Regions from separate parts of the Homo sapiens genome. Here region 1 is linked to region 2. Evidence: promoter capture Hi-C in human tissues and cell types (Jung and others, 2019). All regions are on one chromosome and are shown on one strand. The core of a region is centred on a gene start or on the middle of the fragment in contact, and the rest is flanking DNA. Distances in the headings are between cores, read along the strand shown.

What was found. Contacts are between HindIII fragments. The study calls those that stand out against the background at their distance.
Region 1: a fragment that was not itself captured here is called in contact with the fragment with the promoter of TP53INP2 in region 2 in 1 of the 25 tissues and cell types used here (dorsolateral prefrontal cortex).

Annotation. Positions count from the first base shown.
Region 1 is chr20:33,986,659-33,990,149 of GRCh38, reverse strand. No RefSeq gene overlaps it. Among named protein-coding and RNA genes, the nearest start is that of RALY, 5.5 kb to the left of the region's middle. The HindIII fragment of the contact is 5,978 bases long and covers 1-3,491 here.
Region 2 is chr20:34,703,009-34,706,078 of GRCh38, reverse strand. TP53INP2 (tumor protein p53 inducible nuclear protein 2) reads right to left here and starts at 1,735. Exons shown (of 5, transcript NM_021202.3): 1 at 1,567-1,735; 2 at 605-721. It overlaps LOC105372599 (a long non-coding RNA gene), which reads left to right and starts at 1,897. Exons shown (of 2, transcript XR_936690.3): 1 at 1,897-1,942; 2 at 2,266-2,420. RefSeq lists a silencer at 1,460-1,939. The HindIII fragment of the contact is 10,895 bases long and covers 1-3,070 here.

The sequences.
Region 1 (3,491 bases), core at 53-2,552, 720 kb after region 2:
AGAGAATGGAGGTCTGCCTTGTCCATCTTTATTTCCTTCTGGCACAGTCACACAGGAAAGCCCCATGGGTGCTGTCAGATTGGATTGAACTGAGCTGACTCTTGGAGATATTTAGTCAAACTTGCCCATTTTACAGATGGAGAAATGACAACTGGAGAGGGGAGTTCTACTGGAGAGGGGAGTTCACACATATACACTGAAAGCTGCCCATCAAAAGAGTTGCAGAACCAGGACTACAGCCCTTGCATCTTGACTGCCAGTACGATGCAGGTTAAACTCTGTGTTTGATGCTTGTTGATGTGGACGTCTGGAACTTGAATAGAAGACATTTCTTATTTCAGATGCATCCATTAGCAGGTCTTAGCCAGGAGCCAGGCCCTTGCAAGTATATATTGCAAGTAATTGATGACATTGGAGCCAGAAATCGAATGAACCGGGCCCAGTTCAATCCACTTACTGGACAAGCTCCTCAAGCACTCTAAGCCCCAATTTCCTCCTCTGTAAAGTGGGCATAAATTACATTTACCTTGAGGGTTGCTGTGAAGGCTAGAAATAATATATGTAATGTCCCCTGATACACAGAAGGTGCTCAAGAAATAGTAAGCTCTTCTAATGATTGTTATTGATGGCAAAGATGATGAAAAAACAAATGCTCTGACTTCTCAAAGGAGAGAGAATCATCCCTGAGGATTGTGTCTTGGAGAACATAAATCCATATTTTCTCTTTCCTGAACAAATTCCCTCTGGAAGGGCACAAAGGGAACAAATTCCCTTGTTAGGAAGGAAGGAAGGGAAGGAAGGATGGAAAACAAGAGCAAGGAAGGGTTGGCAGGTTGTGACTGTCTACCTCTCCCTGAGGCTTGCTCTGCTACACCCACCCCAAACTCTGGTCCATCCCATTTCCATGCTGAGATCAGGCCACACACAGAAGTGTTGGTGTCAGACCACCAGCTTTGAGCCATCCCTGGGAATCCCCAGGATACTGGATAGCAGATTTGGAGCATACAGTTCCCACCCACTGTGACTGACGGCTAGGGAGCTCAAGGTTATGGAGGAAGCTCTCATAAGTCAATGCAAGTTTGTGTGTCTCCCGTTCCTCACTGGCTTAGCCCTCAGAGCCCTTGTCCCTGCTTTCTGCCTTGCAACTAGGTCTTCACATTAGTGTTTTATCAAACAAAAGACAGGCTGACATCTTTAAAGTATGGTCTTTATTAAGTAGGGAGCAAATCATTCCACACCTTCCCTCCCAATACCTCCCTCACCAGTGACTTCAAGCCTTCAAACAAGAGGGGACACCTCTCCCCACTTCCCAGTGACCTTTCTCCGCCCCTCATTGCATCCATGAGTGACACCACTGAGATCAGATGCAGTGATGTTAATTGAAATGGACATTAAGGGCTCACTTGCTCAAGCAGAAGCACATTAGAAGAAATATAAACGAGGAAGACATTGGGTCAGTAACATTTGTTCTAATGAGAATAACCATCTCTAGAGCATCTTGTTCAAAAAGGATTGAGTGCCCAGGAAACAACAGATACATGAGGCCTTCCACCCCCACCCCACCCCCAATACTCAGAAGTGTCACACATACTTGCAGAGACTTTTCAATCATCCTTGCTTCAATCATGATTCCCCAGGTGCATTTCTGTGGGTGTCACCCAGCACATTCCCCCTCGTGTTCTTCATCTGTTTCTCCAAATCTACTTCTCCATATTATTTTAAGAGTTTGTGACCAGATGTTGGTAACATGTGGTCCCAGATGTTCTTATTTGCTATACCTCAGGAATTCTTGACTAAGTGACCCAAGAGCTTCTCAACTTTGGATCCAATAAGGGGAACCTAAGGCTAAAAGAATCCCATCTGGAGTAGAGAGGAAGATACCCAATTACCCAATTTTTTTGTTTGTTTTTGTTTGTTTTCTGAGACAGAGTCTCTCTCTGTCACCCAAGCTGGAGTGCTGTGGTGCGGTCATAGCTCACTGCAGCATTGAACTCCTGAGCTAAGCAGTCCTTCTGCCTCAGCCTTCCGAGTGGCTGGGACTATAGGCATGTACCACCATGCCCAGCTAATTTTTAAAAAAAGTTTTTGTAAAGACAGGGTCTCCTTATGTTGCAAAGGCTGGTCTTGAACTCCTGGGCTCAAGAGGTCTTCCCACCTCAGCCTCCCAAAGTGCTGGGATTACAGGCATGAGCCACCACATCTAGCCCAAGTTTCTGCATAAAGAACATGAAGGTTTTCCTTAGATCATGCTTTACATGGCACATCATGTCTTTATGGTTATTAGTGGGCAGTTGCAAGGTATAGATACCATTTTTGTCTATGCTGTATCATCTCCCAATATTCTTAACAGCATCTGACTTAAAAAAATTTTTTTTTTGAGACAAGGTCTTCCTCTGTCACCCAGTATGGAGTGCAGTGCTGCAATCATGGCTCACTGCAGCCTCAACTTCCCAGGCTCAGGTGATCCTCCCACCTCAGCCTCCAGAGTAGCTGGGACCACAGGTCGTGCCACCATGCCCAGCTAATTTTTGTATTTTTTTGTAGAGACAGGGTTTTGCCATGTTCCTCAGGCTGGTCCCTAACTCCTAAGCTCGAGCAATCTGCCCGTCCCAGACTCCCTGTAAGTGCTTGGATTACAGGCATGAGCCATTGTGCCTGGCCAGCATCTGATTTTTCTGTGAGCCTCTACTCCTATTCTTGGTCCAGGCCATAAAGAGTATGGAAACTAAAGTCTGACTGCCTAGGTTTGAATATTGGCTCTGCCATTGACCAGCTATGTGAACCTGGAAAAATTCCTAACCTCTCTGTGCCTCATATAAGAAATGTGGAGAATAGTATCTACCTCATGGAGTTTTTGGGTTATATGAGTTAATTCAGATAAAATGTTTAAAAGAGTGACTGGCACATAGTAAACACCCCCCAAATGTCATCTAGTATTAATATTATTACTATTAGTTCAGAAGGGGCTGACTTCATTCCCCCTGGCCCTGGTGATGGCACCTGACCCAGGCCTGGCCAATCAGGACATTCTGTCCCCCTGTCCACCATGGAGTCCTTCTCCATGGTCAGTCATACCAGTCATTTGGATTGGCACTGTGGGCTGTGATCTAATGTGAACTCTGAAAGCCTGGTCATGCTGGGCCAAAGCTGCAAAGTAAAGGTAAACATCAAATCTGGGCTGGTTCATCAGGAGAGAACATTCTGAGTAGGGAGACCTGGGGACTATCCAGTTTCACCTTGCAGGTGAAGGCCCACTCTCCCTACTCTAGCCGTTAGTTAGACCCCATGAAAATAATTGCAGTAGACTGTTAATTTGATGGCTTCCAGTGAACCATGCTTCTGGCATTCATACTCTTATGTAGTCCCCTCCCACATTGATTCTGGACTTTGCCATATTGATGCAGGGCAGGTAAGCCCCAGAATTGGGGCTTAGCCCGAGAAGGTTCTTCACTTCATCCAGGAAAGAATTCAAGGGCAAACAGGTGGTGGTA
Region 2 (3,070 bases), core at 486-2,985:
TGTACCAGAGCCTGCACTGTGCCTCCCCAAATTTCAGATAGGTTTAGGGGAGGGAGGCTCAGGGGAAAAGCTCCCTGCCTGAGGTCACACAGCAAGTCAGTGACAGCCAGGAGTGAAAGCAGTCACCAGCCAGCCAGTGCCTGCCCCCTCTCCTGACCACTTGGGGAGCCTCCCAGATTTCCTTTCCCAGCCCTGCCAGCTTCCTGGTTCTCACATTCCCAGTTCTGCTCCAGGGAGAACCATTCCCTTTAATAACTACAGCAGCTCTGCCCAGAATAGCATTTGTGCCCTAAGCCACCCCTACCCCCAGCCCATCCTTGAGCAAACTCCCAGCAGGAATGGAGTTCCTGGTTCAGCCTCTAGGCCCATCCACTTGTTAAGTCAGAAACTCTCCTTATCCTATCCCTTCTCCTATACTCTCTGTGGGCAGAGGTGACGAGGGAGCAGCAAAACACCTGCAATTGTCTGCACTAGGCCAGGTCAGGCCCTTCCTAGCTGACGACCTAGGAAGTTGGGAAGGTAAAGGGCCAATAGAGGGAACCCTCACCCCACCCTCCACCCCAACATCAGCCCTGGAGACACCCCGAGGCAGCCAATGACTCACCTCTCTGTGATCCAAACAGCTGGGAGGCAGCGATTTTATTGGACTCTAGGACTTCAAGGTACAGTGAGGACAGAAGGGGTCAGGACCACAAAAGGTGAACCAATCTCCAGAGATTCCCTGGAAAAGGGTCCAGGAGTAAGGACACCTAGGAGCCTATCAAACCGTGATAAGGCTGAGCCCAAGATCGGGTCCCCAGTGGAAGGAGGATGTGTATCTTACCACTTGTACTGAGCCCCTATTATGTCTTTGCCCCTGGCTAATAATCCATCTGTCACTCAGTGAGCATGACTCTAATTGGTTATGTGACCTCGAGAGAGCTAATCCTCCTCTCTGGGCCTGTTGCCCCTTCCATGCACTGGGGTCTAAGACCCTTCATTTTGGGTCTAGGAGTGACATCAGCTAAGGCGCTGCACACAAATCAGGGATTAGGAGGATGTTATTCTGTTAGTCCCTGGGGGCGGAGTCTGGAGCCGGAGGGAGGGGATCCCACCACCATCTGGTGCTGTCCCAACCACCTGGAGTCCCATGCAGCCCTGAACTCCTGACGACCCCCTCAACCTAGGCCCAGCAGCGCCGTCTGACTCCTTCTCAGGTTGCAAAGAGAAAGTAGGGGATCAGAGGCCTGACCCCAGCCCCTGGATAAGCCTAGGAAATCGCCGATCCCCCTGCAGCCCCCTTTGGATTGCAGCGTCTCACCCAGGGCCCAGCCCCGACACAGCGGCTACCGGGTCACGGGAGGACAAGCGACCCGAGCCTGTGGGGGCGGTACCGGCCTTGGTGACGTCTCAATGTCATATGCAAATAGAACGACGTCATGGTCTACCGGGCGTGCGGCAACCAATCGGGAGCCGGGAACGCGGCCCCGGCGGCCGCCGGCGGAGACAGACAAAGGCCCGGGCGCGGGGGGCGCAGGGCGTGTCCGTGGCAGGGGAGCCCCCAGGCCCACCCGGGTCGGGACTCACCTGGGGGCGGGAGGGGGGCGGCACGGCGTTGAGGTAGTTGTGCGGCGGGGCGTCCCAGGGTCGCCGGCCGCTCACAGGCCGGGCCGCATCGCCGGGACTCGCGGGGGAGGCGGCGGGGCCGCGGTCGCTCCGGGCTGCTGAGCTCGCCCGCGGGGCTTTGAGTCTGTGCGGCCGCTGCGGCGGGGCTCACGGCACAAATTGGAACGTTCAAACAGCTGATTGTGACGTCACAAAGGGGCCCGCCCGCCTCGCGTCACCGGCTGGCGGGGCGGCGGCCAATCCCGGGCTGCGGATCCCCCCCTGCCCCTCCCCTCCCCTCCCCTCCCGGTTTGCGGGCCGGGCGCTCGGGCCGGGAAACGTTCTCGGAACCGGGAGGGTGAGTGTTCGGGGAGGCAGCTGCGGGGAGCTGGGAGCCCTGCGCCGCGGCGAGCTCTCCGCGAGGAGGATCTCCACTCCCTCCTACCGGCTCCTTATTTTCCTGATTCTTCCCGGATCGCAGCGCCCTCACCTCTCCCACTGCTCCCCAAATCCTTTCACTGCATCCTATATCCAAGTCCCCCGATGCGGACCCTGTTCTCGACCCACACCACGTCCGTGCACCTGCATTCTCCCCACTGCCCTTATTCCTGCTCTCCCTCCCCCCTCTGGCTCACCTCCTCAGCCTTACACACTCTGCTTTCCCACCCCGTTTTTCCTCAGCTCGGCGGGCTTGAGAAAAGAGGGACATCCCCAACCCCCGGTTCCCGGGGAGCATCTGGGAATGTAGAGAAGTTAGTGAAGCTGACGTGAAATTTCGCAGAGTAGGACTTGGAGAGGAATTGCCCTGGGCTGAGTAAACATTGACCTGAGACGGCTCCGCGCTTGAACGTTTACATACCTTATTTAATCTATGTTGCTACCGGGGCTGTAAAGAAGTGGCAGGACAGGGACTGATTATGAGTCCTGATTTACACGTGGGAAAGCTGAGTCTCACAATCTCACTGTTAGCGTGTGAACTCATGTTCAACAATGCATTCAACATTTATTAGGCACCTACTATTGCACCACCATACCACTAGCTGACATGTATTGGCACACTTACTGTGTGCCACGACCTGTGCTATGGGTGTGTTTTTTTATCTTCACAACAACCCAAAAGGTAGATATTGTCCCGTTTAACAGTTGAGGAAACAGACTCAGAGAGCTCAAGTGACTTTCTTAGGTCACAAAAGTACAGTCAATGGCAGAGCCAGGATTTGAACCCATAGCTCCCAGCCCTGACCCTCTCCATTCTCTACATGAACCAGATGGTCTAAACCTCAGGGCGCTTTAGCCTCCCCAGAGTCCTGGCTTTCAGTCCTGACTGTGCCCTAGACTTGCTGTGTGACCTCAAGTCATGTTACCTCTCTGGGTCTCAGTTTGTCAAACAAACATATCCAGGCTTCCCTCTAGAGCTGCCATTGTAAGATTCTTCCACACTCTCTGCCCTCAGGATTCCACCCACCCCACGCTCTAGGCCCCAGCT